Linked DNA regions of Homo sapiens: all the other regions are linked to region 6. Evidence: promoter capture Hi-C in human tissues and cell types (Jung and others, 2019). All regions are on one chromosome and are shown on one strand. The core of a region is centred on a gene start or on the middle of the fragment in contact, and the rest is flanking DNA. Distances in the headings are between cores, read along the strand shown.

Region 1 (4,019 bases), core at 1,073-3,572, 620 kb before region 6:
GCTGCTACAACTCTCCACTCCCCTCCTGGTACCAAACACCACTTACCAAAGCTTGCTGTCCACCTCTTTGTGGATACTCCCTTTATGTACACACTCCCTTCAAGATCAAGAGGGGTAATCCTGGACTCATTATCTCTCTTTTGAAAGCTGTTATTTTCTCCTGTGCTCTTCATTAAGCAAGTATTTTTTGCATGTACCACATAATATGCATATATATTTATAATATATATTATATATATACACACACGCAATATATATTATATATGTACATATGTATTTTATATAATCAATATATACATGCACACACATACATCTCTGTGTGTGTGTGTGTGTGTGTGTGTGTGTGTTATGAGTACTTGAAGACATAACTATTTGAAAAACCAGAGACCTAATTTTCAGGCAAAGAGAAGAATATGTACAAAGTCACTATGGCATGAATGGATATACAGTAAGAAAAATGAAGAGAAGATTAGTGTGGCTGGAATGGAGGGGTTATGTAAGGTTATTTCGTGTGGCTAGTGTGGCAAAAGAAAGGAAGTATGAACTCAAATTATAAAGGTCCTAATATGGTTCCAGACAAGACTTGAAATTTAAAATGTGGGCCTTGCTGAAGTTCACAGTTAAACATGTTAGGACAATGGCTAACAGCTAGGTACAGGGACTTTCAATGACAACTGTGAAACAAAAGTAAATATCTAGGTGAGATCATGGTTTCAGTGTCCAAATAGTGTTGGTAAAAAAAAAAAAAAAAAAAAAAAAGCTCATGAGATAGAAAAAAAAAAAAGTGAAATGAATGGCCATAGGTGAAAGGTGAGAGAAATGAAATATCAGGTTGTCTCTGAGCTACTGGTGCCAATTTTTTCCTTCGCTATCTTTTACTTTCTGTTTAACCTACATTCAACAACCTTTAATGGAACTCCAATATCTACTGAACAAAATCCTAATACCCAGCTTTGTTGTAAGGAATGCTGTTGGGAATTCTTCCCGATTCCCCAGGCTTTGCCATTTCACAGTTTGCAAATCTGAGTAACAAATATTAATCCTTGCATCTCTTTGCCTGGGAGCTTTGTCTAGCCACCAGAGTCCCCTCTGCTTTGCACATGGAAAGGCAGGAATACCAAGAGATTAACACTTACTATAGAAGTAGCTCTCAATGAATGACTGAGTGTTGATATACAAAATACACTTCTTTACTCCTGAGAAACAACAAACTTGAGGAGTATAGTCAACACTTTTTTCTGTATTCCCTCAGTGATTAAGCTTCAATTGCCCAGAGTAGTTTAGTAATTCACTCTACAGTGGCTTCCTCATCTTCCTCGTCTCACTTCCTTACTCTACCATTGGTGTTTCTGGAACTTTCTAAATTAACGTCTTGCACTTGAATGCTTATCTAAGGGTCTGCTCTTGGAGAAGCCAAGATAAGACACATGGTATTAATATCATTTTCAATCAAGTCCCTTATTGTTCATTTTCAAATGCTGCATGTTCTGTGAAGCATACCACTAGCCCTCCAAAGAGAATGTATTCTCAAGGAGAACTTTGTGACTTTCATGATACTGAATCATACATATATCTGTTTCTGCCCAGTGAGTGTGACCTTTTGGAACACAAGGAACTGTGTTCTATCCACATCAGTGTGCCTAATGCTTAGTACAATGCATAGTACATATAAGATGTTGTGATGTTTTATTTTGTGTATTAACTTGACAGAGCCATGAGGTATTCAGATATTTGATCAAATATTATTCTGTGTATGTCTGCGAGGGCATTTCTGAATAAGTTTAACACATGAGTTGGCAGATAGAGTTAAAGAAGATAGCCCTCCCTAATGTGGGGTGGGGCGGCGGGAGGCAGGGAGTGCTCATCCAGTCTGTTGAAGGCCTGAATATCACAAAAAGGCTGACCTTCCTGTGAATAAGTGAGAACTCTTCCTGTTTGACTGTCTTCAATCTATAACATTGATTATTTTTCTTCCTGCTTTCAGAATCGAACTGAAACGTTGGATCTTTCTAGGTCTTGAGTATACTAACATTTGGAATGTAACTGTACCATTGCCTGTACTGTTTCTCCAGCTTGCCAACTGCTTCTATTTCTCTGAAAGACCTAAAAACCCGAATGCAGATTTTGGTACCAAGAGAGGTTCTAAAGGAACATAATTTTAAAGATGAGTCTTCTAAATTGGGTCTCTAGTTTTTAGAATTTCCTCTTTAATCTGATTAGATTTAAAGATGCTGATGACTCTGTTTCCAATAGTAAAGACAGCACTGATAGAATATGACATGATTTGAAAAAAGATATGCAAAATTATCACCATTGAATACTCCTAATCAACCACTTATAAGAAACAGGGACCCGGGGTATTATGTATGTGATACTTTTGAACATTTTTGTCAAACTAATGAATATAATGAGATTTGCTGTTTGCTTCTAATGTTGCAGGACAAAGTAGGAAAACAAAATGAGACAAGGATTCAAATTCTCAACTCAAGTTCTGCATGAATTACCTGTAAATTTCTATTTATGCCCTGAAGGAGGTCCTCATTTCCTGTACCTGCAGGGCTGAGACTACTGAAACCAACCCAGAATCTCATTCTATGACTGAATGAATAACAAAATTAGTTAAACTCACAGCCTTGCAGAGTGTGGAATGTTAAAGTGAGGACACTGATTGGAAAAGAATGAGATTACAAAGATGAATGGAAATCATAAGACCCTGTTGGAGCTGGAGATGTTGAACACCTAATTCTTTTTAAAATTTATTTTTAAAATTATTTTTATTGATACATAATATTTGTACATATTTGTGGGGTGCATGTGATATTGTATCACATGCATAGACTGTAGAATGATCAAGTCAGGTTATTTGGGGCAGCTGTCACCTTCAATATTTATCATTTTTAGGTATTGGGAACATTTCAAGTTCTCTTTTCAAGTTATTTTGAAAAATACGATACATGGTTGTTAACTGTAGTCACCCTATTCTGCAACCGAACATTAGAACTTATTCCTTCTATCTAACTGTATGTTTGTACCTACTAATCAACCTCTCCTTATCCCCGACTCCCACTCATACACCCTTCTCAGTCTCTGGTATCTGTTATTCTACTCTCTACCTCCATGAGATCAACTTTTTTCATCTTCCACATATGAGTGAGAGAGAATATGGAAAATGTATCTTTCTGTGTCTGGCTTATGATATTTAACACAATGATCTCTCAGTTCCATTCCTGTTGTTAAGAATTACACGATTTCATTCTTTTTTATATGGCTGAATAGTATTCAATTGTGTATATATACCACTTTTCTTTGCCTATGCATTAACAGATACTGCAGTTAATTTTATATCTTTGCTATTGTGAATAGTGCTACTATAAACATGGAGGTACAGATATCCTTTTGATATACTGATTTTTTTCCTTTGGCTATTTGGGCTTTTTTTAGTTCCATGTGAATTTTTGGATTATCTTTTCTATTTATGTTCAAAATGATATTGGTACTTTGATAAGAATTGCATTGAATCTGATGATTATTTGGGCAGTATGGTCATTTTAACAATATTATTTCTTCCAATTCATGAGCATGGCATGCCTTTCCAAGTTCTGTGTTTTCTCCAATTTATTTCATCAGTGTTTTGTAGTTTTTCTTATAGAGGTCTTTCACCTCCTTAGTAAAATTTATTTCTAGATATTGTATTATTTTTATAGCTATTGTAATTGAGGTTGCCTTCTTGACTTCTTTCTCAGCTAGTCCATTATTTGGTGATAGAAATGCTACTGATTTTTGCATGTTGATTTTTTATTCTATTCTTTACTAAATTTATTTATTATATCTAAGAATTTATTGATGGAGTCTTTAGGTTTTCCTAGGTATAAGATCACATCATCTGCAAAGAGGCACAGTTTGATTTCCTTTTTTTCAAAGTACATGGCTTTTATTTCTCTTGACTGATTTGTCTGGCTAGGACTTCCAGAACTATGTTGAATACAAGTAGGAGCACTACATTCTAATGAGTTTCATCC
Region 2 (3,805 bases), core at 84-2,583, 530 kb before region 6:
GATCTAACTAAATGAAAGCGCTTCTGCACAGCAAAAGAAACTATCGTCAGAGCAAATAGACAACCTACAGAGTGGGAGAAAGTTTTTGCAATCTATCCATCTGACAAAGGTCTAATATCCAGAATCTACAATGAACTTACACAAATTTACAAGAAAAAAAAACCATTAAAATGTGGGGAAAGGACATGAAAAGACTCTTCTCAAAAGAAGACATTCATGAGGCCAATAAACATACGAAAAAAAGCTCAATTTCACTGATGGTGAGAGAAATGCAAATCAAAACCACAATGAGATACCGTTTCATGCCAGTCAGAATGGCAATTATTAAAAGTCAAGAAACCAGAAATGCTGGTGAGGTTGTAGAGAAATAGTAAATTAGAAAATAGTAAATTAGAATAGTAAATATAAAATGTAAATTAGTTCAACCATTGTGGAAGTCAGTGTGGCAATTCATCAAAGTTCTAGAACCAGAAATACCATTTGACCCAGCAAGTCCATTACTGGGAATATATCCAAAGGAATATAAATCATTCCATTATAAAGATACATGCATGTGTATGTTCATCGCAGCACTATTCACAATAACAAAGACATGGAATCAACCCAAATGCCCATCGAGGATAGACTGGATAAAGAAAATATAGTACATATACACCATAGAATACTATGCATCCATAAAAAGGAAGAGATCATGTCTTTGCAGGGACATGGATGGAACTAGAAGCCATTATCCTCAGCAAACTAATGCAAGAACAGAAAACCAAACACCACATGTTCTCCCTTGTAAGTGGGAGCTGAACAATGAGAACACATGGACACGGGGAGGGGAACAACACACACTGGGGCCTGTTGTGGGGGGTGAGGGCATGGGGAGGGAAAGCATTAGGAAAAATAGCTAATGCACGCTGGTCTTAATACCTAGGTGATGGGTTGGTAGGTGCAGGAAACCACCATGGCACACTTTTACCTATGTAACAAACCTGCACATCCTGCACATGTACTCCAGAACTTAAAATAAAAATAAAATTAAATAATTTTTAAAAAGGCTTCATGAATTAAAAAAAGAAAGAAAGAATGGCTGGAACAGACAAATACCAGGGATAAAATTCCTATCAAAACATGAACGATGGAGCTAAACTGTATGCAGGAAACCAACCAATTATGCAGTGAGAGAAAGGGAAGTATAAATTTATGAGTGAGCAATAAAATATATTTATGGAAATCGATTTTCTCAAAATAACTCTAGTGAGTTTAAACCTTTCCTTTCCGGTATTTTTATTAAAACATAAAGAAGAAAATACCCACAAGTCTGAGGTTTATGCTGTAAGCATAATCTCCATTTGTTGCAGTTGTTTACAAGAGTGTGCCCGTTTCTAATGTTACGATGTAACTAAAGTTATGATTTCACTCCAGTATAGCCCTTCTTACCTGAACAAAGAGATCATAAAGAAAGTAAAGACACCTACTCTAACCACAAACAGAAGATAAAGTATTATGACAGACTTTAATTTTATGTAAAAATTTTCAAGCAGAATAAATGAAAATAAATTAATATGTATAACATATAAAATACACCCCACATACATTTGCAAAACATAATATTTGAGCTGTGACAATTAAACAGGAAACAAGATGCTCAAGAAAATATGAGGTTTAAGGCCCCCGAAGTATTATTGCTGGACATTTTACTTTTCATTTCTTCAGATTACAGGTTAGGTTTCTAGAGTAGTCGCTTACCCTGGACTTGTCCTTATTCAATCTAGAAAGACTGACTTTTCCTAATATGATGGTCTGCTATAACATGAAGGCATTGGCCAATCTGTGACGTCAAAGGTAACTTCTTGACATTGAGACATCCCTTGAATTACACACTACTTGGTGGACAGTCATCTACTCCCACAGCCCCTCTCTGGTACATGCCATCTCTTAGTAGAGATGAGTGGCTCCTTGCCACATATCAATAGCTGTGTCATGGGACGTCGGCAGCATTCATCACCTACCCCATGATCTTGACCAATTCTGGCCAGAGACAAGTGACAACTTGCCTTATTTTGAAAGGATGCATGTTGCTGCTCTGGCCTTGAGCATACCAGAAAATCTCAGACCTCAAATGCTCCCAGCCTCAATAAGATATCATGAGGTCACGGATTCATCACATATGTTCTTTCCTTTTTGCTATTTTTCCATTATTTTTAATATATACTCAATGAAGTCATCCTAAAAGGAAAAACTAGTATTACTAGTTCAATGGTAAAGAATAAAACGTTGTTCCTCCTGATGTGTGAGCATCCTAATGCTTTACAAGCCCTTATAGAAATTCAAAGTAAGAGCAATGACAACATCTAGAACTTTAAAAGAAACTGTATTTATTAGAAAAAAAGAAAGGAGATACAAACTGAGCAGGGGGTAGGAAGAGGAGCAAGAAGAACTAAGGGGAGGAGCAATGAGCTCTTCTGAAAGGGCAGACTCCAGAAAAGGAACAAAACTGCTGCAGACTTGAAAGCACCACTGTCTATATTATTGTCTGAGTCTTGGAAATCTTATGTTGAGTACAATAAGCTTCATTTATATAAAATTCTAAAATAAATCTATGGTGAAAAACATCAGAAGATTGCTCTTAGGGAACTTCCTGGGATGATGGTAATTTTCTCTACCTTGATAGAGGTTTGGGTTACACAGGTCTATGTATTTAAAATATGCTTACTATTCCATTCCACTTCAAAAGACATATTGAAATGTAGTTGATAATATGCTTGCTAAAGTGTTTAGGGGAAAGCATCCTGACATCTGCAATTTACTTTAAAATGTACAAAAAACTAAGATGAAGTATAGAAAAATGGAGGGATCGATAAATGGATAGGTTTGTGAAAAAGCAATATAGAAAAATGTTCATGTTAGAGTCTAGGTAGTTGATATGCAAGTGTTTACTGTAAAATTTATTCAACTTGGCTTATGTCTGAAAATAGTTGTATAAAATGTTGGTGAAAAATGTATTGTCGGCCGGGCGCGGTGGCTCACGCCTGTAATCCCAGCACTTTGGGAGGCCGAGGCGGGCGGATCACGAGGTCAGGAGATCGAGACCATCCCGGCTAAAACGGTGAAACCCCGTCTCTACTAAAAATACAAAAAAATAGCCGGGCGTAGTGGCGGGCGCCTGTAGTCCCAGCTACTTGGGAGGCTGAGGCAGGAGAATGGCGTGAACCCGGGAGGCGGAGCTTGCAGTGAGCCGAGATCCCGCCACTGCACTCCAGCCTGGGCGACAGAGCGAGACTCCGTCTCAAAAAAAAAAAAAAAAAAAAAAATGTATTGTCATTCCTTTTTTTAAAAAAAAATAAAGATCCATTTGTATTAATAATCATTCTCTTTTTATGATGCCAATGCTTTTGGTAAAGTTAGGGGCATCAAAATCATTAATAGATGTCTTAGTCTGTTCAATCTTCTGTAGCAGAATACTATAGTCTAGGTGGCTTAAATAATAGAAATTTATTTCTCACAGATCTGGAAGCTGAAAAATCCAAGATCAAGGTGCTGTCACATACGGTGACTGGTGAGGGCTGCTTGCTGATTTATAGATGGCACTTTCTTGCTATAAACTCACTTGGAGGGAAGAATGAGGCAATTCTCTAGAGCCTCCTTTATAAGTGCACTAATCTGATTCATGAGAGCTGAGCCTTCATGACCTAATCACCTTCCAAAGGCCCCACCTCCTAATAATATCACATTGGAAAGTAGGTTTCGACATATGAATATGGGGGAAGACAAACATTCAGACCACAGCAGTATATTTATATTAATTCACTCTGTG
Region 3 (3,822 bases), core at 768-3,267, 620 kb after region 6:
ATAAGCAAGGTAAGAGGGACACCTGGTCACGACTGGGCACGGAGGTACCAGGCCATCCACTAGGATGAATTATCCTGTGAAAGGCACACTTTAAACATCCACAACCACCTCCCCAGGATCCCTGTCAGGGCAGTGCTAGAGTTTATAACCACTCTCCAGAGAGACAGACCTCATCTGAGTTAGAAAGAAATCACAACCACCACACACCACTGAGCTGCCTGCTCCAAAGCTACCAGGCTGTTTCACACCATCGCCTCTGCCAGGCAGGTCCCTCTTCCCAGATATCTTCTTCCCATTGCATGGGCCCCTTCCTCCACCGAACTCTCACCCATTCTTCTAGATACAATTCATGCTACCTCTGCAGGAGGCCTTCCTTATTCATTATCCCCAGGCCCAGATGGGGACTCTGCACTTTCCACATTGTATAGGAAGGATCTTGTTCTGGGCCAGATTATCTCAGCAAACCCTGAGTTCCACACAGTAATAGCTATCCCCAACCGGCTAATGTGTCAAAAATTATCCAAGCTGATTCACACTCATGAATTTGTTTGATCTTCACAACAAATTTGTTGTGAAGTTTTGTTGTAAAGATTTGTTGGTCTTCCCATCGTGTATCCTCAGTTCCATTTTACAGATGAGGAAACTGAGGTGAGGAAGGAGAAGTAACTTGATTAGGGACCTGCAGCTGGCAATGACAGGCAAGATTCAAATTCAAATCTACCCAGAGTTTGTTGTCCTCTATGCCACAGCACATCTTGGTTTTGTTGCTTTTTCAAAAAGCCCTGATACTGTTAAGATATCAGAGATACCTGGAGAAAACTCCACTCTAAAAATGCACTATTCTGACATTGGGTAAAAATTAAGGAAGTCTGGCCAGGTGCAGTGGCTCACGTCGGTAATCCCAACACTTTGGGAGGCAGAGGTGGGCAGATCACTTGAGGCTAGGAGTTCAACATGGTGAAACCCCATCTCTACTAAAAATACAAAAATTAGCTGGGCTTGGTGGTGCATGCCTGTAATTCCAGCTACTTGGGAGGCTAAGAGAGGAGAATCACTTGAACCCAGGAGGCAGAGGTTGCAGTGAGCTGAAATCATGCCACTGCACTCCAGCCCAGGTGACAGAGCAAGACTCTGTCTAGAGAAAAAAAAAAAAAATTAATGAAATCCAAATAAAGTATAAACTTTAGTCAATAGTAGTATATCAATATTGGTCCACTCGTTGTCACAAATGTACCATAGTAATGTAAGACATTAACATGAGGGGAACCTAAGTGTGAAGTATACAAGATCTCTCTATACTATCTTGGCAACTTTTCTGTTAACCTGAAACTATGAAATATTCTGAAATTAAAAGTTTATTTTTAATAAAACTGTTCCAGGCCAAGTGGGTAAAGACAGAATTTCCACAAAGAAGAATTTTATTTCTTTGCTTTAAGACTTCAATTACTATTAAGTAATTTTATTTAATTAAGGCTTTAAGTAGATTAAATAAAAATGAAAATTTCTAGATATAAGTCTTGTCGATCATTTGCATTCTGTATCCAAATGATCTTGGTTTCTTCTCCTGGTATCAATTTGCTCACAGAAATTTTTTTAAAGGAGCAAACAGACAGGGAAATGGTGTAGTAGTTTTAAAATATGTCCATAGCTTCTTTAATACTACTTCCTTTAAGAGGTGGAGGAAACCGGAAGCCATGTTGTGAGGACACTCAAGCCACCCTGAGAAGAGGCCCGTGTAATGAGGAAATAAGGCCTCCTGCCAAACACCAATATGGACGAGAAGCCTCCTGCCCATAGCCATGTGAGTGTGCCAACTTGGAAGTAGATTCTTCAGCCCTGGTCCAGCCTTCCAACAATGGCAGCCCCAGCTGACAATGTGACTATAACATCATGAGACACCCAGAACCACAGCCAGCCAGCAAAGCCAGTCCAAAATTCCTGACCCACAGAAACTATAAGATAATAAATGTTTACTGAGCTGCTATGTTGGAGGAGTTTGTCATGCAGCAATAGGCAAATCCTTAATTCACCGCCTCCCCTACCTCCACCACACATGGAACTATTCTTCTCTGATCTTTAGGCTCAACACAGGGGGTTTCTAACTGTTTTGTGCCACTGACTTCTTTGTTGATGCATGGGTTTCCTATGGCTGCTATAACAAATGATCACAAATTCAATGGCTTAGAACAACACAGATTTACTATCTTGCAGTTCTGGAGGCTAGAAGTCCAAACAAGTCTTGTGGGGCCAAAATCAAGGCATCAGCAGGTGTTTCCTTGCCTTTTCCAGCTTCCAGAGGCTGCCACACTCCCTGGCTTATGGCCGCCTTCTGTCTTCAAAGCCAGCAATCACTTTATTCCCATCTCTGTTTCCATCACCACATCATCTTCTCTGACTCTGACCCCAACTCTCTTGCCTCCCTCTTTCACTTATAAAGACCCTTGTGGTGACACTGGTCACACTTTGATGCTCCAGGATTAATCTCTCCATCTTAAGGTCAGCTAATTAGCCACCTTAGTTCTATCTGCAACCCTAATTCCTCCTTGCGACATAACATTAACATTTCACGGTTTCTTGGGATTAGGACAGGGACATCTTTGGGTAGCCATTATTCTGCCTGCAGTCAGTTTGGTGAAGCCTGTGGACCCTTTTTCAGGATAACACTTTCAAGTGCATAAAATCACAGACATATGACTCCAAATGAAACTAATTCCACTGAATACAGTTACTAAAATACTTTAATGCAGTTATTAAAATACTTTAAAAACAAATGTGTGATGTAGTAATACATGTGCATCTTTTTTAACATACTAGAAGATCTATAATTGAACTGGTAACTACCTTAATTTCAAAGTGGAGATGAATGTACAGATTCAAGATTGTCTGCAATAAAATGTTCAAGATTGTCTGCAATAAAAAGAACTAAGCTGGAGGCATCACGTTACCCAACTTCAAATTACACTACAGGGTGACGGTAACCAAAGCACCATGATACTAGTACAAAAACAGACACATAGACCAATGGAACAGAATAGAGAACCCAGAAATAAGCCTACACACCTACAACTATCTGATCTTTGAGAACCCTGACAAAAACAAGCAATGGGGAAAGGACTCCCTATTTAATAAATGGTGCTGCAACTAGCTAGCCATATGCAGAAAACTGAAACTGGACACCTTCCTTACAACATATACAAAAATTAAGTCAAGATGCATTAAAGACTTAAATGTAAAACCCAAAAGTATAAAAACTCTGGAAGATGACCTAGGTAATACCATTCAGGACATAGGAATGGGCAAAGATTTCATGATGAAGTCACCAAAAGCTATTGTAACAAAGCAAAAATTGACAAATGGGATCTAATTAAACTAAACAGTTTCTGCACATCAAAGGAAACTATCAACAGAGTAAACAGACAATCTACAGAATGGGAGAAAATTTTTGCAAACTATGCATCTGATAAAGGTCTGATATCCAGCATCTATAAAGAACTTAAACTTACAAAAAAAAAATCAAGAAGTGGGCAAAAGGCATGAACAGACACTTCTCAAAAGAAGACATTCATGCAGCCAGCAATCATATGAAAAAAAGGTCCAGGTCACTGATCATTAAAGAAATGCAAATCAAAACCACAATGAGAAACCATCTCACACCAGTCAGAATGGCCATTATTAAAAAGTCAAAAAATAACAGATGCTGGTGAGGTTGCGGAGAAAAAGGAACTCTTTTACACCATTGGTGGGAGTGTAAATTTGTTCAACCATTGTGGAAGACAGTGTGGTGATTTCTCCAAGACCTAAAAACAGAGATACCATTTGACC
Region 4 (4,085 bases), core at 1,303-3,802, 640 kb after region 6:
AAAGGGTGTGCTTTTTTTAATATATATGTACAAAATTTTGAAGTTCAGAATACACTTTTTAACCCACTTCTAACCCAGGACCTTGGGGGATGGGTTGGACCTGTGTCACACAAACGACAGTAACCGTGTAATAAGTAAAACATAAAGTTAAATTAAAAGCCTAGGACAGCCGGCCATGGTGACTCACACCTGCAATCCCAACAATTTAGGAGGCTAAGATGGGAGGATGGCTTGAGCCCAGGAGTTCAAGACCAGCTCAGGCAGCTAAATTTAAAAATTAGCCAGGCACGGTGGTTCACACCTGTAGTCCCAGCTTGGGAGCCTGAGACATCAAGGCTGCAGTGAGCCATGATCATGCCACTGCACTCTGACCTGGGGGAGAGCAAGACCCTTTCTCAAAAAAAAAAAAAAAAAAAAAAGCCTAGGACACATAATATGGATAAAACTCACAAACATAATGTTGAACACAAGAAGCCAGACACAAAATAGTGCACATGGTCTGATTCCATTTATATAAAGTACAAAGACAGGCAAAACCCTTCTGAGGAGTTAGAAGATAAGATAATGGTTATCCTGGGCCTGGGGTCGGGGGTAGGGGCAGGCAGCGGCAGTGATCATAACTGAAAGGAATAACTAAAAGGGGTCACTAACGGGCTTCCGAGGACTGGTGATGTCCTGTTTCTTCAACTGGGCACTCTTTATACGCTAGTGTCTTTATATACTCTGTATACAGGTGTGTTCAGTTTGCGAAAACTCATCAGCTATACATTCACGATTTGTGCTCTTATCTATATATATTGTGTATATGTATGGGTGTGTATATATATGATACACATTTATATACACACAAGTCACTACATAAAATTACAAGTTTAAAAATTAACCTAGGCCAAGAAGAACGCTTAAAACCAGTCGAATTCTTTAGCACAATGCAGATATTTTCAATTGAAAAGAGAAAAACCATATTGGTATGAATAGATAGAGCCATAATTCAAGGTCACACATAAAATCTTGACCACAGGCTGGGCACGGTGGATCACACCTGTAATCTTAACACTTTGGGAGGCCGAGGCAGGTAGATCACAAGGTCAAGAGATCAAGACCATCCTGGCCAACATCATGAAACCTGGTCTCTACTAAAAATACAAAAATTGTAGTCCCAGCTGCTCGGGAGACTGAGGCAGGAGAATCACTTGAACCCGGGAGGCGGAGGGTGCAGCAGTGAGCCAAGATCGTGCCACTGCACTCCTGCCTGGGGACAGAACAAGACTCCATCTCAAAAAAATATATGTGTGTGTGTGTGTGTGTGTGTGTGTGTGTGTGTGTTTGTGCGCGCGCGCGCGCGCGCACTGACCACAGTCTAAGTTCTAATGGGCCATAAGCAGGGTTTCATGATGTTAAGAGGTAGGGAAGTGGGACCAGATGACCCTTCCCATCGTTGACAAACGCTACCAAGTGAAGACATTCTGTTTCAAGTTTTTAATGATTTTATTTCAATTATAATATCCTATATTTGCCAACAATGTTCAACTAACCTTTTTAAATTAAATGTACTTTCAAACCCATAATAATTCCTGAATATGGTAATGTTTAAGCGAAAACAGATTCAACTTCTAAATTTTATAACTTCTTTATTAAAATTTAAGTGTTCACAAGCCTTTTAATGCAAATCGCTAAAGCCTGTACTATATTGCATGAAATCCCTCCGTGGAAGAGCACGCATTCTATCTCTGTACCTATTTCACAGATGAGGAAACTGTCATTTCCATGTCTGTTTTATTAACCACTGTATTCTCTGAGCCCAGGCCCATTGGGAGGCCTGTAGAGCAGTAAGCACTCAACAAATGTGATTAAATGAACAAAGGAGGCTTGGAGAGGTTGTGTAAACTGCCCAGGTCACCCACCCTTCCTGGGTGGCCCCAGCCCTCTTTGAAAATAAATCCAACAGGAAGGCGACTGGCGGGACCGGTGGTGATCCTGAGGTGAGCCATACCAGGTGTGGCCCAGACTTCCGCATGCAGCCTGCCCTTGGGTCTCCTGGAGTCTCCCCTGGTCGGGAGCCTCAGCCTTCTGGAGACTGACACCACCCTCTTACTCAGAGACGAATCGTTTTGTCGTTGCCTTCACCTCCCTGACCACAAGTGCTCCGGGGCTCTTTCTGAGGGAGGCAGCTGTTCTAGGCGGGAGGCTGGAGTCTCCTGGGCCTGGACGCACCCCGGGGTGTGAGTGATGGGTATGCCTGAAAGGAGGGGAAGTGGCGCGGCTTTAATCATCTGGGCTAGTCCCCGGCGGGCCTGGGGGAACAGGGAAACTGGAGGCGGCCTTAAAGCGTCAGGATGAGACATCGCAAGAGGAGCTGCAGATACTGAGCGTGCGCCCCGGGTTCTCGCCGCCTTCTCTCCGCCGAGCAGCCCTTCGGCCACCCTTTGCCCTTAAAAATCTGCAGACTGCGCCTCCTCTCCGCGGGAGCGAGACCTAGCAGGCCCGGGGCTGGGCGTGCCCTCGCCTGCCACGCTGCGCGCTGCCCTCAGCCGGGCCGCTGGGGCCGTGCAGTGCACCGGGCACGCCGCGCCAGGCTGGGGGCAGGCACCGAGCCTCCGTGGGAGGTCCCGAGGCAGCTTCGCCTGCTCGCCCTGGCTCCAGCCCTCACCTGCCGCAGCCTTAGCTGAGCAGCCGCCGCCACTGGGCGCCCCCCGCTCCCCACTTCGCCAGCGCCCGCTCCTCGGCTCGGCCCGGGGTAGTTTGTAGGGACGCAGCTCTCCACGTGCGCGACTGCGAGGCTGGACGCTACGGGCTCCTGGAAAGGAGGTGGGTGCTCCGGAGCTAGGGCTGGGGAGCTAGAGGTTGGGAGGCTTTCATGGGCACCAGTGGCTCCTGAGCCCCCTTAGCCCCTTTCTTTCTGCAGCCTCTTGTACTTAAATAGCTGTTGATTGAAAATAATTTCGTCTGGATGTGACCACCTTCTCCGGCCCTACGCATCTGGCCGCAAAATAAACTTTCAGTTCAGCCGCAGGTGCTGCCTTAATGGGAGTAAGGGGCATGCTTTATCCACCCAACATCCGCCCCAGGATCCTGCAGAGCTGGCAAAAGACAGGTCGGGTGGCCTTCGAACACCAAGCACCTTCAGATATTCCAGGGGAAGGGTCGGGGACTGTTTCCCCCTCATCTTTCCTCCTTCCTGCTCTCCATCCCTCCATGCTTTCGTTTCTTTGACTGTCTGCGAAGGGCTTTTCAGCACTCTGCCAGTAACTTTGCTTCTTGTTTTGGTCTCCTTAGATGCGTTTTCCCGGCTGAAGTTTGCTGCTATCCTTGACAAGTAACAGCTTGCTGCAGACTAGACGTTCACTCAAAAATGAAGGCACAGAAAGATAGGAAAGGAATGCAGGAAAACCAGCTTGGCTAATTTTAGCCTGCATTTTGTTGTAAGGGGAATCAGCATCTATTGCCTGAATGAGTAGTGTTTTGATCACCCAAGTTAGGAAAAGACCTTATATCAGATTGCCCAGTGAAATAAGCAGTAAGGAATCACCTTTAAAAGTTATTTTCTTTATATACAAAACATTTTAAATAACTAGACTTCACAATTATAGCATTTAAGAAATTGTAAGGATCTTAAAGTCGAACAGTTCAATGCCAAGTTATGAGTTTGACGATGAAGGGGCATCTTTTGTCTCCTCACTGCGCAAGATTTGTGTTGATAGAAATGCTTAGTAAAGGCTACTGAGAATTTAGTTCACGTAGTTTGAGGAGTTTTCTTTCATTTTGGCATTGCAACATTATCAAAGTGGTTTCCCAGTGTGGTGAATAAGAGTTTGAAATAGAAAGGCAGACCTGGATTTCCACCTGGGCTCCAGCATCTAACTTGCTGTGTGACCTCAGGCAACTTGCTTCATCTCTCTGAGGCTGAGTTTCCTCATTTCTAAATGAGATTGCTGAGAGGATGAAAAAGGGATAACAGAAGACAGGAGTTAACACAGAGCACATCATACAGTCAGTAGGTAATAAATGATACCTGAAGCTGATGATGACAGAGGCAAGCAGTTAGGCCTAATGCAGTCACTGAGTGGCACTCCTCATGCAGAGGG
Region 5 (4,045 bases), core at 6-2,505, 600 kb after region 6:
AATAAGGGTTACAAGGCATTTGTAAATGTGGCAGAATTCCCAAAGCAACAAGCCCCCCAGCACCCTTGACTGTCTCTTCGGAGGGGAAAAAACAAATGATTGAACAGTTGCCGGAGACTCAGGCAGCCAAGGGGTCGACAGAAGCCAAGAAGGCCAGCTGCAGGCTGCAGGCTCAGCACTTGGCCAGCACACACAGACGCTGTTCATTCTCAGGGCCCACCTGTCAGCCAAGCTGTGCAGGTGTTAGCTGAACAGTGCTTTTGCCTCTCTGGCCCTTCCATGATTCCTAAAGAGAAAGGACTGTGAAAGAAGGACGAGAACACCCATCTGGAATCACAGACTTTCTGAACTTTTAACCCAGAAGAATCCTTAAAGATCCATCTACCTTACCTCCCCCACCTTCCTTCATTTCAGAAGAAAATGGTGCCCTGCAAAGATCACAAGATTTGCCTGGGATTACCAAAGGTAGAAGTCAGAATTTTTCCTGGACCTCTCAACCCCAGCCACTTATTGAGCACTGTAGGAGACAGTCAAGCAAGGGAGGAGATACAGTCTGTCTTCAAAGATGTCCTAACATGGTTCAATGTGAAGGGCCTGGCATACAATGCATGCTCAAAAAATGATAGTGCCTACCCTTCCCCTAAGTAAGCAAATTGAATTCTAGCTGGTAAAGTATCACTTAAAGGCTGCAATGTCAAATACATTTGAAATAGACCGTTAACCCACATTTTTAGCCAAAAAAAAATTTCATTGAAATAAACTATCAAATCTTTAGATCCACTTATAGAACTTTTTTTTCAAAATTCCAATGATTGCCAAAAGACAAAAGTTTCTAACTCTGATTCACCAAAATGAATATTAACGTGAGCAGTCTGACCAAAAGCGGTTCAGAGTAGGTGCTTGCCACTTGAAAGGGTCTTCCAGAAAGTTCTTGCCTGAAATACATTTGTAAGCCCTCCTTTTTCCTGGTCCTTCAGGTATATTTTGTCTTTCTGTTCCCGTTGAGTTCTCATATGATCATATATTGTGTTCATTTTCTCTCTCACTCCCTTGCCTAGTAGGAGGATTTTTCGGTGTCCATTGAGAACATGGGCTTAAGAATCAAACTCTCAGATCTAGATTTCATTTGGGGGACTTGAGTGAGTTGTTCAAAGTCTTAATTTCTTCATCCCTAAAATGGGAATAGTGGTAGAGCTATTCCTAGGCTCTATTAAATTATGTGAGGATTAAATTAAAACAATGCCACTGAGGTATTCAGGAATTTACTATGTGTTGGGGAGTATACTAGACCCCAAAGACACAGTAATGATTAGTGATCAAGACCCCTGTTAGAGCCTAGCACAAAAGAATGGCAAACCCTAAGCCCTAAACAAATAATCACATAAACAAATACACACAGGCAACTCATGTCCACGAGAGGCAAAGGGACTGAAAAGGAAGAAGATGCCAATGGGAATTTTCAGGACATGTGCTTTAAAGCAGAGGGAGCAAAAGAACCACACTTCCTTCCCCGGAGGCTTTATCTGGGACAAGCCCTGAGCTGGTAAGACCCCAACTGCAGATGGATTCTATCAGCATCCCTAGGATCTGTTCTTATCCCAACTCTTCCCAGGAAACTGAGCAAGGGTTCCCTAAAAGTGGAAAAGGAGTCTACACTTATTCCCAAACCACGTGAAGGAGCCATCCCATGTTCTCACCTGGACACAAAGGAGTCTGCTGCTCACCTGAATGATATCAATGAGCTCATCCCACAGCCCTTTTCCTGCCTTGAGGAGAAGTAAGTGGGACAATGACATAGATCAGGAGAATGAAGAAGGTGGGGGCGATGGGTCACCTGGGGGCATAAAAGGCCATTGCTTTTGGGAAGGTGGCCCAAGCAGAGTTGTGAGAACCTGTGTAAGTGCTTCAAAGAGCAGCCTCACCAGGAGGGCCTGCAGGAAAAGCAAACACTGCAGCAAAGTTTTTTGTTGTTATTGCTGCTGTTTTTATAAATCTCTGAACTATTCTACTTTGTTGTTAAAAATGACTAAATTAAGCTTTTAAAAGTAAAATATACCCAAATGAAAGAGAACTGTTATTCAACTCCTGGGGAAGAGAGGGGGGACTTCTTTTGGGCAGAGCATCTTTCCATGCCTATTTTTGCTTCTAATTTCTCTGCTTCAGGACCAGGAAATGTGTCCATCCCTTGGACGGCCCTGTTCAAGAGAATTCCCTGGCAACCTGCTCTCAAGAGCTGACTTTGGAAGTCACCCAATCCTCCGCAGCTGCTCTCCAAGCCCCACAGGCATGGAGTGAGGAAAGGTCAGGCAAAGTGGGGCTGCTTGTGGCCTTGCCTTACTTTGGCATCACTCCGGGTCCAGGGAATGTCCAGCAGGAGCAAATTCCATGAGCCCAGATTCCAGAACAAGTGTGTTTTCACAATGATTCCTGTCAACTCCCTTTTAAACTGACAGAATGCATGTTTCTGATGGCCAGAGTCCAACGCTGAAGTGTGTGTGTGTGTGTGTGTGTGTGTGTGTGTGTGTGTGTAAGAGAAAGAAAAAGAGAGAAAGAGAGGAAAGAAAGAAAAAGAAAGAAAGAAAGAAAGAAAGAAAGAAAGAAAGAAAGAAAGAAAGAAAGAAAGAAAGAAAGAAAGAAAGGAGAAAGAGAGAGAGAGAAAGAGAGAGGCAGCCTGAAAGAATCCTGGCACCAGGCTACTGCTTTTTTAATAAATGTAGAGCTGACTACATGATAAGGGAGCAAGTCAAAAAAGACAGGAAGGATAGCCAAGAAAGCCAATGCCACAGAAAGCTGAAGCCTTCTTTCTGCCACACCAGAGGCATTGGTTCCAGGGAAGTGAAGTGTAGCTGTCTTAACACTGACAGAAAGACCTTGTAACACTTCTCATTGTCACATTTGTTCTTTCGTGACACTCTGTGTTGGATTCAGCAACTCCCATCTAACAAATAAGGATGTCTCCTGAGTCAGTGACAGTTCCCTCAAGCCAGATCTAAATCTTCTAACGTCATGCCCATGCGATCCACTAGACCACCCTCATTCTAGGACATAAACATCTACCCTGATGTGCTTCACAAACCTAAATGTGGCTCCAGTTTCAGCCCTGATGTGTAAAGAGTTTAGAATACATCATTTCCTCCTTTATAAGTCAAAGCTGGACAAAGTACAAATCAAGGCTTTTCTTGGACCCATCAGAATACAGGTCACAGAGAAAACCTCAAAATATGAAGAGACTGATGTATCCAGAGAAATACAGATCTCTGAAACTAAAATCTTAGAAACTAAGATCTATTTACCTGAAGCAGAAGTCGCTGGAGGCAGAAACTAAGGGGAACATTTAAATGGTAATTTGGATGAATTGCTGAAGACAGTGTAGACTAGCACAAGGGGAGAGAAACTTCTGGGGCTGCACCCATGATAGGCCTCACACTTTCATGAACTTGCCCTCCAGGAACCCTACCATGTTCTCCTTTTGAGAACCTGAGGAAGATCTTTTTGTGGTCCTGGTTAGGGGTGGGGGAAAGAGACCCTGAGTGATGGCTCTGAGTGATGGAGAAATATACTCAGAGCCTTCTGCATAACAAGCACCTACTCTCCAGGAACAAAGGACTTTGCCAGAGCCTCATCCCAGATGAGAGAAGAAAATTCCTCCCACTCTGGCCTTCTGGCTCCTGTATCACCTAAGGGGGAAAAAAAAAAACATGTCCAAAAGGGGTCAGGGCTCCAGGAACGGTAATGCTGCAGCCATGGGGTAGGCAGGTGGAGGAACAATACCACAGGGGGAGACGGAAACACCTGCAAAGGTCACAGCCCAAAGACACAGACCCGCTGAAAGAGACTTACCCACAACACTATAGAAAACTTTACCTCCCCACAACCTACCACCACAAGCTTCCAGTATAAAAAGAGTAGATGACAGAGAAAAGAGTTTAAGACACAGACTCTCTCTGAATAAACAGAGAAGCTCCAAAGCCAAGAGGAGAGACAAAAACAGACACCAGAAGAACATGAAGCCTCTTGTACCTATAGTTACAACAAACATTAAGCA
Region 6 (3,782 bases), core at 160-2,659:
GGGAAGAAAGAGGGGTGGAAGAGTGCGGGCCGGGAGGGTGAGGCTTACGGTCGCCCGGGGCAGCTGGAAGTGGGAGCCCCTGCAGGGCTCCGTTGCACGTGGACTGGAGAGGGGTCTGTTTACTTCTGGCCTGGACGTAAGGAAGGGCTCTACCGCAGTGGCTGCCCAAATCCCCCTCCCACCCACCACCCACCCCGGGCCCTGGCCCGCGTCCTCTACCTTTAGGAGACCGCAGTCCGTCTAAGAAGCACGCGGGGACACGTCCATTGAAAGAGCGTCCACATGGAAAAACTCTGGTCAAAGGACCTGGCGCAAGGACCGAATGTCCGTTCCTTTTCTTTGCCTCCTCCTTCTCCCGGGTGCCGGCCGCGCAGTCTCTCTTTTCACGCTGGGAACAGCGTCTCAGTGTCGGGCAAGGCCGAGGAGTGGAGGGGCGGTGGGGCTCGGAGATGGCGAAGCAGGCTCCGCTGGGGCAAAGGCACCGGCGCAAAGTGGGGTGCGCAAGTTATTCTCCCTGCAAGTTCAAGAAGTCCCCAGCCAAGTGCTGACACACAACAACAGCGAGCAGGGGGAGGAGTGCGGGGCAGGGAAGGGAAGGGAGAAAGGAGAAGCTGGTGCTGTCGTCCTCCTTAGGAACCAGCGCCCGAGGGACGCGTGGCCCCGCGCGGGGCCGGCTCCGGGACTCGGGGGTCGAGGGTCGGGCGCTCCGCGCTAGCTCCGCCGCGGCCCATGGCTCGGGGCAGCCATCCTGGGCGACGCCGGGTCCAGGGAAGGGCACGGCGGCGATCTCGGTGCCAGGCGAGTTGCCCCCCCGCATCACTCTGCCTTACTCCAGTGCACCCCCATTCGCGCTCGCCAGTTGAAAGCACCGCGGCTCTGGCGCCCCGTCGTCCTCGGGCGCATTCTCCGGCGAGTCGAGCCGAGTCCCGGGCCGCCGAGGCGGGTGGCTGTGCTCTCCCCTCGCTCTCCTAGCCCTGGGGCCAAGTGCCCTTTGTGGCTAGCCTGGGGTCCGATCACACCTCGGCCAGCGCGTCCCAGGCCCCCGATCTCCTGCAGTAGGTGCTCCGCATCGCGGCGCTAGGGATCGGCTCCGGAGTCCCCGGCGCTCTGCGCGCCCGTCCGCGGCTCTGGCGCAGCCCGGGCAGCAGAGGCCACGGCGCTGTGGCGCGCTCTGCCGGGTGCTCCAGCCCGCGCGGGGTCTGCGGCGCGCGGGTGCCTCGCGGTCCCCGGTGATCCACTCGGCGCTGGCCCCGAGAACGTTCGGGTAGCCGGCGGAGGCTGTGGCGGCAGATGTGCGGCGGCGGCTGCCAGTCCCCGGCGGGGTGTGGGAAGCGGAGCGACTAGCGCAGCGCGAGCCGGGCGCAGCGCGGCGGGGCGAGGACTCCGGCGGCGGCGACGGCGGCGGCGGCGCCGTGGCGCGGCGCTCGCGGCTTTTAAAGGGGACGCCGCCTGCCGGCTCCCTCCCGGCCGCGGCCGAACACCTCCCCCTTCGCGGCGCGGCTCGCCGGGGATCCCCGAGCGGGCGGGAGCTGCGCGCAGGGGTGTGGACGGCGCGCCCGGGCAGCCGCGGCGGGGTGGGGCGGAGGGCGGGGGCGCGCGGCCGCCAAGGGGGGCGCTCGCGCCTCCACTCCCTGCTCTCAAAGGAGAGATCAGCTGGCGCGCCGGACCCTCGCGGGGACTCTGGAGGCGAAATCCAGGACAAATGCAGGGTCAGGGTCTGGCCTCTTATTTCCCCGCTGGGCCCGTTATTCAACTTTCAGTTTGAAGTTTTTCGGTAATATACGATTTCAAAAAACAAAACAAAACAAAACACCTCAATTACAGCGTATTTTGGCATAGCATAGACGTGGGATCCACGCTTCTGTTTCCCCGGAATAGGAGGAAAATTAAAAGAAAACAGCAGGCTGGAAATTGAGTGTTTTTAAACATTAATACATAGAGATGTATGTATTTACATATGTAAATGCATGTGTACAAATTTTTTTACATAAATGTGTATGCATTTATTTTCATATCCATACGCATGTAAATTTATAGTTACATAAATATATCCAATATACAAAAATATGTGCATATATTTCTATAAATATATTCATGTATGAGAATATATGCAACCGAAGGGCCACATTTCGGTTAATATGTCTATGTATGTGACATGGATGTCATCCTGCTTTACGTGACATGTGTGTAACGTAGACTGCGTGTGTGGCAGACTGAAGGATGGATGGGAGGGATTTGATTTTTTTATTGTACAATCACTTTGTGCCTTGTGATATTTATCTCACCCAGCTCAGAGGCAGGCGATTAGCAGCTCAGAGGAAGGTAAAATAACGCACTGTGTGAACCAAGCATACAGGACAATTCCAGTTTGGGACCTTGGAACCTTCTACGCCACCCTCTTCCACCAGGCCCCCAAGAAGTAGGGCTGTGACACGTGGCCAAGTCACTCCTCAGCTGAATATTCACTGAAGTCACTCCTCAGCCGAAATACTGCTCAGAGCTGCTGCACGATGAGTCTGGGGCCAAGGCTTTCTGCCCTTCCCAGGATTCCAGGAGCCCCCATGCACAGCACCTCGGGCTTGCCCAAATGATCCCCAAAACCAAGGGCAGAAAATTTTTGGAAAAGGCCAAGTTCTGCTTTCCCAGAGCTATCGGGCCTGCGAAACAGAGAGAAAAAAGTCAGAAGCAGGAGCTGGTAATAGAACTATTATCCATGTGTATTATTTTTTCGGTAGGGGAGCTAAAATAATACTAGGTTCCGCTCACGTAAATCGGATTAGCAACCCACAGAGGCGAATTAGGCACTTGCTGTTTCTAAAGGTATAAAGGTCAAATAAGGTATTTTGGAGGAAGCCTGACTACCAGGAAAATAAAAGGGGGTGGGGGAATTATTCAGGAACATGCTACTTTATTTCCTGAAAAAAAAAAAAAAGGTGCTATAGAAGTTGATTGTCACTCAGAGTCATTGCACCGCAAACAAGGAGGCAATAAAACATATCCTACTCATGGACACAGGGCTTCTGAAATTATTTCCTTTCCTATCAAGTTTAATTGAGAAGTTAACAATTGTTTCTCTCATTACTTAGATTTCAAAAACAAAACAAAACAAAACTTCAATGAGATTTAAGTAGCTTTTAAAGAGGAGGAAAAGTTGATAACTATTGGATGCACCCGAAGAAAAAATAAATAAATATCCTGTGATGACCTCAAGGATGTCTTGCAGCTTTAGAACTTCATAACCTGGTAAGTGGAAACCTTGTCAGTTTAGAATCTGAGGGAAAATGGGTACTTCTGAACACTGTTTCATGTTAGTGCTGCCCATTGCAGAATCTCTTTTATGTAGGGTGTATGATTTCTGAGGAACTACTGAATGCTTGTTCCAAGCACAACTTACATAAATTTTGGCCCTATTTTTTTTTTTTTAGAGATGGCTGCCCTCTTGTGGTGGAAATGAGTTCGAACGCTTGAAAGAAAGAAGTCCATAAATAAATAAATAAATAAATAAGTAGTCTCCAGAGACTGATTTGGGATCGAAGTACAGGATGACTGTACCTACCCGTTTTCCAGGGAAGAGCAATAGTCAGAAATGATAAATCTAAATACAGACGAGCTATTTCTTTTTTTTTTCTCTCTCTTCACTAATGGCTACCTTCCACCTGCAACTTAGAATGCTGGGTTATTTAATACTTTGGGAGAGTGTCTGTTTGCCTTGAAAATATCACTTGCAGCTAACCATTGTCAATTCTACCGTTTTCAAAGGTCCATTCAAAGTTTTTCAGTTC

Evidence for each region. The method cuts DNA at HindIII sites, captures the fragments that hold promoters and counts their contacts. A contact is called where the count stands out against the background at its distance.
Region 1: a contact is called between a fragment that was not itself captured here and the fragment with the promoter of BMP2 in region 6, in 1 of the 25 tissues and cell types used here (dorsolateral prefrontal cortex).
Region 2: a fragment that was not itself captured here is called in contact with the fragment with the promoter of BMP2 in region 6 in 1 of the 25 tissues and cell types used here (dorsolateral prefrontal cortex).
Region 3: a contact is called between a fragment that was not itself captured here and the fragment with the promoter of BMP2 in region 6, in 1 of the 25 tissues and cell types used here (dorsolateral prefrontal cortex).
Region 4: a contact is called between the fragment with the promoter of FERMT1 here and the fragment with the promoter of BMP2 in region 6, in 2 of the 25 tissues and cell types used here (IMR-90 fibroblasts and heart right ventricle).
Region 5: a fragment that was not itself captured here is called in contact with the fragment with the promoter of BMP2 in region 6 in 2 of the 25 tissues and cell types used here (dorsolateral prefrontal cortex and hippocampus).

The regions. Positions count from the first base shown.
Region 1 is chr20:7,384,683-7,388,701 of GRCh38, reverse strand. No RefSeq gene overlaps it. Among named protein-coding and RNA genes, the nearest start is that of MIR8062, 15 kb to the right of the region's middle. The HindIII fragment of the contact is 3,332 bases long and covers 657-3,988 here.
Region 2 is chr20:7,293,196-7,297,000 of GRCh38, reverse strand. No RefSeq gene overlaps it. Among named protein-coding and RNA genes, the nearest start is that of LINC01751, 12 kb to the left of the region's middle. The HindIII fragment of the contact is 7,428 bases long and covers 1-3,805 here.
Region 3 is chr20:6,144,286-6,148,107 of GRCh38, reverse strand. No RefSeq gene overlaps it. Among named protein-coding and RNA genes, the nearest start is that of FERMT1, 23 kb to the right of the region's middle. The HindIII fragment of the contact is 5,496 bases long and covers 1-3,822 here.
Region 4 is chr20:6,121,497-6,125,581 of GRCh38, reverse strand. It overlaps FERMT1 (FERM domain containing kindlin 1), which reads left to right and starts at 2,552. Exons shown (of 15, transcript NM_017671.5): 1 at 2,552-2,808. RefSeq lists a silencer at 2,547-2,666. The HindIII fragment of the contact is 15,378 bases long and covers 1-4,085 here.
Region 5 is chr20:6,160,711-6,164,755 of GRCh38, reverse strand. No RefSeq gene overlaps it. Among named protein-coding and RNA genes, the nearest start is that of FERMT1, 40 kb to the right of the region's middle. The HindIII fragment of the contact is 6,503 bases long and covers 1-4,045 here.
Region 6 is chr20:6,765,313-6,769,094 of GRCh38, reverse strand. It overlaps BMP2 (bone morphogenetic protein 2), which reads right to left and starts at 1,409. Exons shown (of 3, transcript NM_001200.4): 1 at 220-1,409. LOC105372517 (a long non-coding RNA gene) reads left to right here and starts at 1,611. Exons shown (of 4, transcript XR_937229.2): 1 at 1,611-1,774; 2 at 2,290-2,695; 3 at 3,087-3,243; 4 at 3,426-3,502. RefSeq lists cis regulatory regions at 730-904, 1,545-1,644, 1,651-2,441, silencers at 1,276-1,325, 1,416-1,465 and promoters at 355-1,514, 904-1,545, 355-3,782. The HindIII fragment of the contact is 20,905 bases long and covers 1-3,782 here.